Linked DNA regions of Homo sapiens: all the other regions are linked to region 1. The links are contacts of gene promoters, found by promoter capture Hi-C in blood cells and fetal thymus (Javierre and others, 2016). All regions are on one chromosome and are shown on one strand. The core of a region is centred on a gene start or on the middle of the fragment in contact, and the rest is flanking DNA. Distances in the headings are between cores, read along the strand shown.

The links. The method cuts DNA at HindIII sites, captures the fragments that hold promoters and counts their contacts. A CHiCAGO score of 5 or more calls a contact.
Region 2: a contact is called between the fragment with the promoter of BMPR2 here and the fragment with the promoter of NBEAL1 in region 1, in 2 of 17 cell types (total B cells and neutrophils). The highest score is 5.9, in total B cells.
Region 3: a contact is called between the fragment with the promoter of CTLA4 here and the fragment with the promoter of NBEAL1 in region 1, in 4 of 17 cell types (fetal thymus, naive CD8 T cells, total CD8 T cells and 1 more). The highest score is 9.3, in fetal thymus.

The regions. Positions count from the first base shown.
Region 1 is chr2:203,012,942-203,016,486 of GRCh38, forward strand. NBEAL1 (neurobeachin like 1) reads left to right here and starts at 1,934. Exons shown (of 56, transcript NM_001378026.1): 1 at 1,934-2,041; 2 at 3,215-3,494. The coding sequence starts at 3,444. RefSeq lists an enhancer at 1,614-2,167 and a silencer at 1,806-2,035. The HindIII fragment of the contact is 7,356 bases long and covers 1-3,545 here.
Region 2 is chr2:202,373,995-202,377,576 of GRCh38, forward strand. BMPR2 (bone morphogenetic protein receptor type 2) reads left to right here and starts at 2,333. Exons shown (of 13, transcript NM_001204.7): 1 at 2,333-3,556. The coding sequence starts at 3,481. RefSeq lists enhancers at 1,181-1,340, 1,451-1,740, 2,895-3,582 and silencers at 1,831-1,880, 2,031-2,520, 2,651-2,710, 2,781-2,840. The HindIII fragment of the contact is 13,398 bases long and covers 1-3,582 here.
Region 3 is chr2:203,866,232-203,869,517 of GRCh38, forward strand. It overlaps CTLA4 (cytotoxic T-lymphocyte associated protein 4), which reads left to right and starts at 1,540. Exons shown (of 4, transcript NM_005214.5): 1 at 1,540-1,820. The coding sequence starts at 1,712. The HindIII fragment of the contact is 240 bases long and covers 1,407-1,646 here.

The DNA.
Region 1 (3,545 bases), core at 684-3,183:
GCTATGTTGAGAATAATCCACGGATTTGGGGTAGAGTCACGGGCAGAGTCAGGGAAACAAGTTGGAAGGCTATTACAATAAACTAGAAAGTATTTTGTATAACTTAAACCATTTTAAAGACAGTAGCCACGGCTAGGTGCAATGGCTGACGCCTGGAGTCCCAGCACTTCAGAAGGCCGAGGCAGGAGGCTCCCTTGAGCCAAGGAGTTCGAGACCAGCCTGGGCGACATACGAAGCCCCTGCCTCTAATTTAAAAAAAAAAAAGGGAAAAGAAATAAAGATAGTGGTTACTACTACTATACCACCATCCATTTAAGGAAGAAAGTGTGGAGAGATGGTTAGGTATATTTTGGAGATATAGCTGAAAAGATTAGATTGGAAGTGAAGTACATGAGGAAGACAGCAAGCACACTTCCTAGGTTCTTGTACTGAGCAAGTACAAGAATAGAGTTGCTAAGTACTAAAATAGGGTATCCCAAAGGAAAAGCATATTTTCCCCCCAAAATTTTGACATATAAATTTCACATGCCTAATGGACAACCAAGGAGAAATGCTGAATGTAAAATGTAATTTCAGGATAAAAAATTGAAGGTGTAATTTGCAAGCAACTACTCTCAATTCTGCCATGGTAGAGTGAAAGCAGCTATAGGCAATACTAAAGGAATGGGCATGGTTGTGTTCCACTAAAATTTTAGGACACTGAAACTTGAATTTGAATTTCGTCTAATTTTCACATCTCAAAATATTGTTCTTTTGATTTTCGTTAAGCAAGTTGCAACCAGAATGGACTGCAAAGCCTATAACATTTATTGTCTGGCTCTTTTTATTTTATTTTTATTTTTTGAGACAGTGTCTCGCTCTGTCGCCCAGGCTGGAGTACAGTGGCGCCATCGGAGCTCACTGCAACCTTCACTCCCAGGTTCAAGCGATTCTCCCACCTTAGCTTCTAAGTAGCTGGAACTACAGGCGTGCACCACCACGCCAAGCTAATTAAAATTTCTTTTGCAGAGACAGGGTCTCATTCTGTTGCCCAGGCTGATCTCCTGGGTTCAAGGGATTCGCCCGCCTAGACCTCCCAAAATTCTGGAATTACAGGCGATAGCCACTGCGCCTCGTCTCTGGCTCTTCACAGGCAATTTGTGGATCCTTGTTACAAATGAAACAAGATGGGACATTAGTTGATCATTTTTGAAGTTGGGTGACGGTATACAGGGTTTCGTTATACTAGTTTACTTTAGAATATACTTGAAATCTTTCACAATAAAAAGTTGTGGAAATGTTTAACAAAGGTGAGTTATCTTACGCGTTTTTCTTTCCTTATACAAAAACCAAATCTCTCTGAAAGTTGTCTATAGTTAGTAAAGCCTTTTGCTTCTTTTCTGAAAAAGAAAAACCCTTTCGAAGTCTTTAGTGGTGGTAAAATAAGCCCTTTGGATATGACACTCGGTGACGACGAAAGCAGGCACAAAAGGAAAAGAGGAGTTTTTGGGGGGTGTCTGTGTGTGTTTTGTCTTTTTACATTACTCTAAATTCCCAGAACCAATCCCGGTTCTACAAATAAGTGAAACAAAATCCCCTTTAACACCGTAGGGTCTCACGCCCTCAGATGACTCACGGAAATGACGCCATCAGCGAAAAGCGGGGCGGGCGTAGACGTCAGCACGTCAGCCCTCCTCCATGTCCAGCTGAGGGAAGGCTCGTTTCAGTGCCGCGGCCGGCGCCCGCCAAGGGATGGGCAGCCAGAGCCTGTCGACTGCGGCTGCGCAGGTATGCTGGGGCGGGGCTTCAGGTCACCCCGCCCATCCCCAGCCTACGCGACCATTGAACAGCTGCCGCCCAACGGCTGGGTAAATCCTCAGCGGCCGAAATGATTAGCCCAGGGGGCAGCCCCGCCCCCTGCTCCTCCCGGCCTCTCGCCCCGCCCCCATGTCCCGCCCGCTCGTCTGCCTGGCTGCGGGGTGACACGGGGCTTCGCCTTGGGAAGGGGTCGAGGGAAGCAGTTAGACGGCTGCCGGGCGGCGGCTGCCGCGCGGCACACAATGTGAGCCCGGTGATGGGGAGCGGGCCGTTGGGAAGAGGGGGCGGCATGGCAAGAAATGGGAGGGCCCCGGTGCTTGGTGGTGGAGGGGCTGCAGAGTGAGGGGCGGCTTTGAGTGGGCTAGGCTGTCAGGGAGTGTTCCGATACTGTAGTGCAGGCTGGGATCGCGGTCGGGAGACGCCGAGTCCGCATTCCTCAGTTCTAGAGCTTCTCTTGGCAGCTCGGCACACCTTAAGTTTGCCTCTGTTTGGGTTGTCTTGGGATGTGAGGAGGAAATTAAAAGATTCCCCCAAACACTTGGATGCTTCTTTGGGAAGTTCCTCGCCGGTGTGTGCGTGCCCACTTCTCTTGGATGGAAAGGTGGAGAGGCCAGGTGGGCGGGTGGACTTCCACTCTCCGAGGATTGTTAGAACAAACGAACTGGGAATTCCTCCCCCGCCCCCACGCCCTGCCCTGCAACACAGCAAACAGTCCCAACTACTCCACCCCCACCCCACCCCAGACGGAGTCTTGCTCTGTCGCCCAGACTGGAGTGCAGTGGCGTGATCTGGGCTCACTGCAGCCTCTGCCTCCCGGGTTCAAGCAATTCTCCTGCCTCAGCCTCCTGAGTAGCTGGGATTACAGGTGCCCGCCACCACGCCCGGCTAATTTTTTGTATTTCTTTAGTAGAGACAGGGGTTCACTGTGTTGGCCAGGCTGGTCTCGAACTCCTGACCTCAGGTGATTCACGCACTTGGGCCTCCCAAAGTGCTGGGATTACAGGCGTGAGCCACCGCGCCTGGCCCCAACAACTTTGAAGAGGAGACCAGAACAAGAACATTCTAAGAGCTTTGATGTATTTGAAATGTCTGAGATGTGGGCCTTTTCCTTGTATCTGTACAAAAGGTATGAGTGGGAAGGGAGTCTTGCTCCTTATTCTCACTGGACGCATTCTTGGTTATGAACATGTACCCATCTCTAGGAGTCTGTCTGCCCTAGAGGATTCTATGGTGGACATACTGTGTTAGCTGTGATGTTTTCCTGAAACACAAGTTTCTATGAAATCTAATCAGTCCATGTGAAAGTATAGCGGGTTGTTTGTGGGAAGTGAAGAAGATACATCTTTAGTTTTTGATAAGTCTAGATTTTTTAGTATGGCCTCTTTTTCTAACCTGTGGATGTTTTTCTCTTTCACAGATTTATTTAATTGCCCAACTACCACTGATGAAGATATATTGGAGTGACTGCTGAAATTGCCTTTTTGTTTTTAACCAGAGGACAGTCCATTTGTTTCACTTCTTTTTGCTTTCTTTACTGCTATGAGCTTTACTGAACGGCTGAAAAACTTGGAAAATAAAATGGACATGCTGTAGTCTTGAACATAATTTTTTTAAGGAAAACTTAAAGTGCCAGAGTGAAAGCCAGAATGGCATCCAGAGAGAGGCTCTTTGAACTTTGGATGCTTTATTGTACAAAGGTAATTGCTTTCCTTTTTATTTTTATGTTTTAAAATACTTTATTATAAAAT
Region 2 (3,582 bases), core at 1,083-3,582, 640 kb before region 1:
GATCGTGCCATTGTGCTCCAGCTTGGGCAACAAAAGAGAAACTACGTCTCAAAAAAAACAAAAACAACAACAACAAAAAAAAACACCACTTATTATTTCTGGAACTTTCCATGTAATATTTTCAGACCGTGGTTGACTGCAGGTAACTGAAACGGTGGATAAGGGGGAACTACAAAAAGGACACTTAATGTTTCTTGGAAAAAATCTTAAGCAAATAAAAATTGAATGATGAAGTACTTGATCTCAATTTGAGGAAGATAAAAGTGTACTACGAATTAATAAACTTTAAACTTTCTGCACCTCTAACATACTAAAATCCAATTTCTCTGAGTGCTAGAAACTCTCAGTTCTTGAAAGACAAATGGTAAAACAATACCGTTTCTAATTTAGACCTTTTGGGCAAAACAAAATACAGTAATAAAGCTATAAAGAATCGGTCGGGGGCGGTGGCTCACGTCTGTAATCCCAGCACTTTGGGAGGTCGAGACGGGCGGATCACGTGAGGTCAGGAGTTCGAGACCAGCCTGGCAAACATGGTGAAACCCTGTCTCCACTAAAAATACAAAAATTAGCCGGGCGTGATGGCGCCGCCTGTAATCTCAGCTACTCGGGAGGTTCAGGCCGGAGAATTGCTTGAACCTGGGAGGTGGAGGTTGCAGTGAGTCGAGATCGCGCCACTGCACCGCAGCCTGGTCGACAGAGCAAGACTCCGCCTCAATAAATAAATAAATAAATAAATAAAACCTAAATAAATAAAGCTAATGAATCAAAGCATATGCTCTTCGTCTTTTTAAGGGATTTTACTAGGTAGAATTTTTTTTTCTCTGTCTAAAGGGTAAACAGCATAAACATATTTCAACTAAAAAGAGTCTTAGAATCCGGGGTTGGTATTGCTACAACCCCTAATTATGGAAGATGTTTAGTATAACAGAACCAGTTTAAGGAATGTGGAGATTTATTTACATCAAATTCAGATAAAGAGGTAACAGCGGACTAGAAGAAGCAAGCAGAGCATGACTTAAGGAGTCTATCTATGACTGTATCTGTGGAACTGCCCTTAGCCACAATGAAAGACCAGCAAAACCAGCCTTCAGCATAACCCTCCTGCCTGGTAGGAGATGGGAAGGCCAGACTTCACCCCTCAAGATCGCCCTCCCACGCGCATTTTCCACCTCGCAGCTAAGAATTCAGTCCAGACTTCCGATCATGGCGCCACGCACGTCACCTTCTCCCCTCGCCGCCAGCAAAATCCCACCCACGTCGGCTGACCCCGCAGCGGGGTGTAAGGGCGGGAGGGATCCCGTCTCCTATACTGGTCGCTTGTACAAACCAGATCCAAAAAACGCACTACACAAATCCTTGGAAACTGCGGTACCAACGGGATCTTCTCAATTCCTTGAGTGCAAAATGATCCCACTCTCTATCCCGACACAACTCTAACTCCATTTTCCTTTCACGTGCCCTAAAAAGCCCTCAAGGCCCCCAGCCTTGGTGAATCCAGGCCCTCTCTCGGGGTGGGCACCGCGCTGTACGGACAGACGCGCGCACGCAGCGGGACGATTTATAGAATTAAAAGTCTTTTTTTTTTTTCTGGCTTCGCATCCTTGCAAATACTCAATATTCCTGTCAACTAAGAAGGCTAAGGGAATGGGCGGTTGAGGAAAGCAGGACGTCGATTACAGCGAACACATCAAAGGGGTGGTCTTTCCAATTCCGGCTTTTGTTTGAGTCAGAGGGGAGCCTGAGGAGGCCAAGGTCTCCGGTTCTGGGAAAGGCGGGTCCATCCGGATTCTTTGGGCTGCGGAGAGGGAGGTTCCAGCCCCGTGAAACAACAGAGGGCAGTTCTGCCCCTCGAGGCTTTCCTCCGAGAGTACTGAGACGGAGACGCCTCAGTCGGGAGAAATCCCGGAACTCGGAGGAGTCTGCTGAACGCCGAACAAAAGGATGTGGCCGTCGTCTCTTAAACAAATACGCGAATCCCAAGCCATGCACATTTGGAAGGCATGTGTATGTGTGTGAAGGAGAAAGGCCACCGCTGCCCACCGCAGCCCCACCCAGCCCTCGGCCATTCACCGGAGAGACGCGCTGCGGTGGGGCCTCGGAGCCCTCAGCCAGCCCCGAACGAGGGGCGGGGCCGGGCGGGGCCGTGAGCGCGCAGGCGCAGTGCGGGCTTCATCCCGCCGCCGGCGCCGCCGCCGCCGCCGCCCGCTCTGCACCACAGGCTAGAGACAGACAGGGCCGGGAAGAGCCGGAGACTGAGGAGGAGGCGGAGGCGGCGGCGGAGGCGGGGCGACTCCGGTGACCGGGAGCGCCGCAGACTGGCAGCTGCGGCGACTCCCCCCTTTGTGTCTGGTCTGCTCGGAGCCACTGGAAGTGCCTCCCGGAGGGACGCAGGGTGTCTCGCCGCCTCCCTGCCCACCCCCTTCCCCGGCTACCTTCATCCGCCCTCCCGCCGCCCCCCGCCCTCGGTCCGCGACGCCCGAGTTCCGTCAGGAGCCCAGAGCTGCGGGAGAACGAGGCGGCGGCGGCGGCGGCGGCGGCGGCGGCGGCGGCAGCAGCAGCGGCTTCCTCGGGGGGTTGTGATTCGCTCACAGGAGCCATTGACGGGAGAAGAGGAGGCTTTCTTGGTGGAATTTACCTCAGGCAAGATCGAGCCGCAGGAATAAAAAGCGAGGAAGGGAAGGGAGCGCCGCCGGGAGGACTAGAAGGGGCAGCCTCTCACACCCACTCCGCCTGCCGTCTCGGGGAGCCCGGACCGGGGCCGCGACCGCGACCCCTCCCCTCCCCCGCTCCTACCTCTCCTCAGCCTTCGCCAGGGCCTCCCCAACCCTCTCACGGTTGTTCTGCGAAGGCGTGGGGACTGTGAGCTTGTCCATGGAGGCAGGCACCTTTTTTGATCCAGTCAAGGAAGAGGATTTGTTGTTTTCGAAATCAGAGTGAAGGAAGCACCGAAGCGAAACTTAAGGAATCCTGCCTTCCCGGAGCCGCGGGCGATGCGACTAGGGCTGCCGGGCGCCGCCGCCGCCCGTCCGGCTTCGTCCTTCCCGGCAGTCGGGAACTAGTTCTGACCCTCGCCCCCCGACCCCGGATCGAATCCCCGCCCTCCGCACCCTGGATATGTTTTCTCCCAGACCTGGATATTTTTTTGATATCGTGAAACTACGAGGGAAATAATTTGGGGGATTTCTTCTTGGCTCCCTGCTTTCCCCACAGACATGCCTTCCGTTTGGAGGGCCGCGGCACCCCGTCCGAGGCGAAGGAACCCCCCCAGCCGCGAGGGAGAGAAATGAAGGGAATTTCTGCAGCGGCATGAAAGCTCTGCAGCTAGGTCCTCTCATCAGCCATTTGTCCTTTCAAACTGTATTGTGATACGGGCAGGATCAGTCCACGGGAGAGAAGACGAGCCTCCCGGCTGTTTCTCCGCCGGTCTACTTCCCATATTTCTTTTCTTTGCCCTCCTGATTCTTGGCTGGCCCAGGGATGACTTCCTCGCTGCAGCGGCCCTGGCGGGTGCCCTGGCTACCATGGACCATCCTGCTGGTCAGCACTGCGGCTGGTGAGTAGCTCCGGCCGGCACGTCCC
Region 3 (3,286 bases), core at 290-2,789, 850 kb after region 1:
CACTGCTGTGTGTTCCTCTTGAGGGCAGGAACATTTGTTTTTCACTTTTTAAAAAACCTCTGTTGCCCAGTCTGGCATTAGGAAGTGCCCATTAGGTTGTTATTGCTTGTTGGCGCTTGAGCTGGGGCTTGAAGGTTTCTATAATGTGTAGCAGTGTATAGAAAACAGGCAGGTCAGAAAAGGCTTCTGTGCATCACACCAACATGGCACATGTATACATATGTAACAAATCTGCATGTTGTGCACATGTACCCTAAAACTTAAAGTATAATAATAATAAAATTTTAAAAAAAAAAAGAAGAGGCTTCCTGGAGGAGATGACAGCTGAGCTAAGTCCTGGAGGATGAGAAGGAGTATAAAATAAGATAATAGGAGAAAAAAGGCAGTAGGAACAGCATGGGTAAAGGTGATGAGGCCTGAAAGAGGCACGTGGAAGGAAAGACAAATGCAGGAAGGGGGAATGGGAGGGAATGCTGGGGTACAGGCCAAAGAGGGAGGCATTTGGTGAGTATTCTGCAGAGTCTCCTCTGCTGTGCTGAGGTGTGGACAATGGGAAACCATGGACGGACTGGAGTAGGCAAATGTCATATTCCCTGTTACAACTGTCTGTTTGCATGTCAGCCTTCTAGAAGCCCCTTAAGGTATCAACTATGTTTTTGTTTTGTCATCATTCAATCCTAAGTGCACAGAATTCCGGGCATATTACAGGTTCCCCATGAATGTTTCTTTCTTTATTAAAATGTATGAAAACTCTCCAGATTTAAGGAAGGTCCTCAATGTTTCAAATTCTTTTTGTTAGATCATTGGTCCTGTCTACAGCTGTCACAAATTTAAGGACTCTGGTTATATTTAATCTTCACTTTTGAATTTTCTGCTTGAAAAATTTGTATTAGAAAAAAAAGTCTATCCTTTTATGGACGGCTCTAATCTCTTGAATCATTTGGGTTGGCTTTTCTTTGGACCTTCTTCAACTCTGTTTTGTCTCTGTTGAGTTAAGGCTTTTAAGAACACCTGAATTCTTTCCTTCTGCAAAACCAGAGGCAGCTTCTTTTCCGCCTATTTTCAGTTTATTTCTTGTGATTTTAGTTTTTTTCTCTTAACCAAATGCTAAATGGATTTAGGAGAAATAAACTTATTTGTAAAGCTGTCAAGGGACCATTAGAAGGATGGTGCTTCACAGATAGAATACAGTTTTTATTAATGATGCCTAGACAAATCCTGCCATTAGCCCAAGGGCTCAGAAAGTTAGCAGCCTAGTAGTTTTGGAGTTGTCAATGAAATGAATTGGACTGGATGGTTAAGGATGCCCAGAAGATTGAATAAAATTGGGATTTAGGAGGACCCTTGTACTCCAGGAAATTCTCCAAGTCTCCACTTAGTTATCCAGATCCTCAAAGTGAACATGAAGCTTCAGTTTCAAATTGAATACATTTTCCATCCATGGATTGGCTTGTTTTGTTCAGTTGAGTGCTTGAGGTTGTCTTTTCGACGTAACAGCTAAACCCACGGCTTCCTTTCTCGTAAAACCAAAACAAAAAGGCTTTCTATTCAAGTGCCTTCTGTGTGTGCACATGTGTAATACATATCTGGGATCAAAGCTATCTATATAAAGTCCTTGATTCTGTGTGGGTTCAAACACATTTCAAAGCTTCAGGATCCTGAAAGGTTTTGCTCTACTTCCTGAAGACCTGAACACCGCTCCCATAAAGCCATGGCTTGCCTTGGATTTCAGCGGCACAAGGCTCAGCTGAACCTGGCTACCAGGACCTGGCCCTGCACTCTCCTGTTTTTTCTTCTCTTCATCCCTGTCTTCTGCAAAGGTGAGTGAGACTTTTGGAGCATGAAGATGGAGGAGGTGTTTCTCCTACCTGGGTTTCATTTGTTTCAGCAGTCAAAGGCAGTGATTTATAGCAAAGCCAGAAGTTAAAGGTAAAACTCCAATCTGGCTTGGCTGGCTCTGTATTCCAGGGCCAGCAGGGAGCAGTTGGGCGGCAGCAAATAAGGCAAAGAGATAGCTCAGAACAGAGCGCCAGGTATTTAGTAGGGGCTTCATGAATGCATGTGAGTTGGTTTAGTAGAGAGACACAGGCAATTTCAGACCCTTCTATGAGACTGGAAGTGATTTAAGAGGGAAAGGATAGCCATAGTCCTGAATACATTTGAGCTGGGTTTCAGGATGAGCTCACAAGTTCCTTTAAAAAAAATTGACTTAAGCAAATCCTGGGAAGAGTTTTTTTGCTATACAATTCAAGGTTTTAAGGTCCTCGGATTCATATACTTTATAAATGAATTAGCCAGCTTGTTTAAAATGTAGGGAAATTGTGGGAAGAATGCCTTCTTTACTTAATTCAAGGTTTTAAGGTTCTCTTAATCAATTCTACTAGCTAATTAGCCAATTATTTAAAAATAAAAGTTTGAAATTGCCAAAAAAAAAAGACAAGGAAAAGGAAAGAAAGAAAGCCACCAGTCTGTTTGGCATACAATACTTAATTGTTGCCTGACCTACGTGTGGGTTTCAGATGCAGATCCTCAGTTTTCAGCTCTTCAGAGACTGACACCAGGTTTGTTACACGGCTTAAAATGATGAGTATATCCATTGAATCTCAACCTTATCTCTCTCTAGACCTTCTTGGTTAAGAAACCATGTAGTTTGTATGAAGTAGGTACTCAAAAGATATTTGATGATTTAATTTTTACTGGAGAAGAAATATTCATATATGTTTTCTTATTTTTACATGTTTTAAATATGTAAAGATTAAATAAACACTCTTAGAAGTATTTAAATTTCCTAAAGTAAATTTATCTCAACCAGTAACAGGACCCTCCCAATACTGGAAAGTTGAGTGTGACCGCATTTAGTGGTGATGAGTGTGAGCTTGCTTGGGGAGAGGGCAGGACATTTAGGATTTCTTAAGCTTAGAGTCAATACAATAAAGATTATTGAGTGCTCACTTGGGTGGGCTATAATCACTGCTCACAGGAGTTCATGAACCACAAGTAAAAGAGTGAGGAGATATGATTAGCTCACAAATAACTTTAATACAGAGCAGAAAGTAATGAACTACTGCAATGGAGTTATCACAGTGCTAAGGATGCTCAGAGGGCATCTCTGATAGGCAGAGGTGAGGGTTAGGGAAGGAAGCTGTAGTCTAGCTAGCTAGAGCTGCTGGAATAGACATGACAATGGCTGCTGCCAAACTGTTTTCTCTTCTGAGGACAGATGTCCCGTGCAAGTGGCTTGGTGGAAGGGACTAGTGTCTCTAATATAGGGTGATTTATAAGCAGG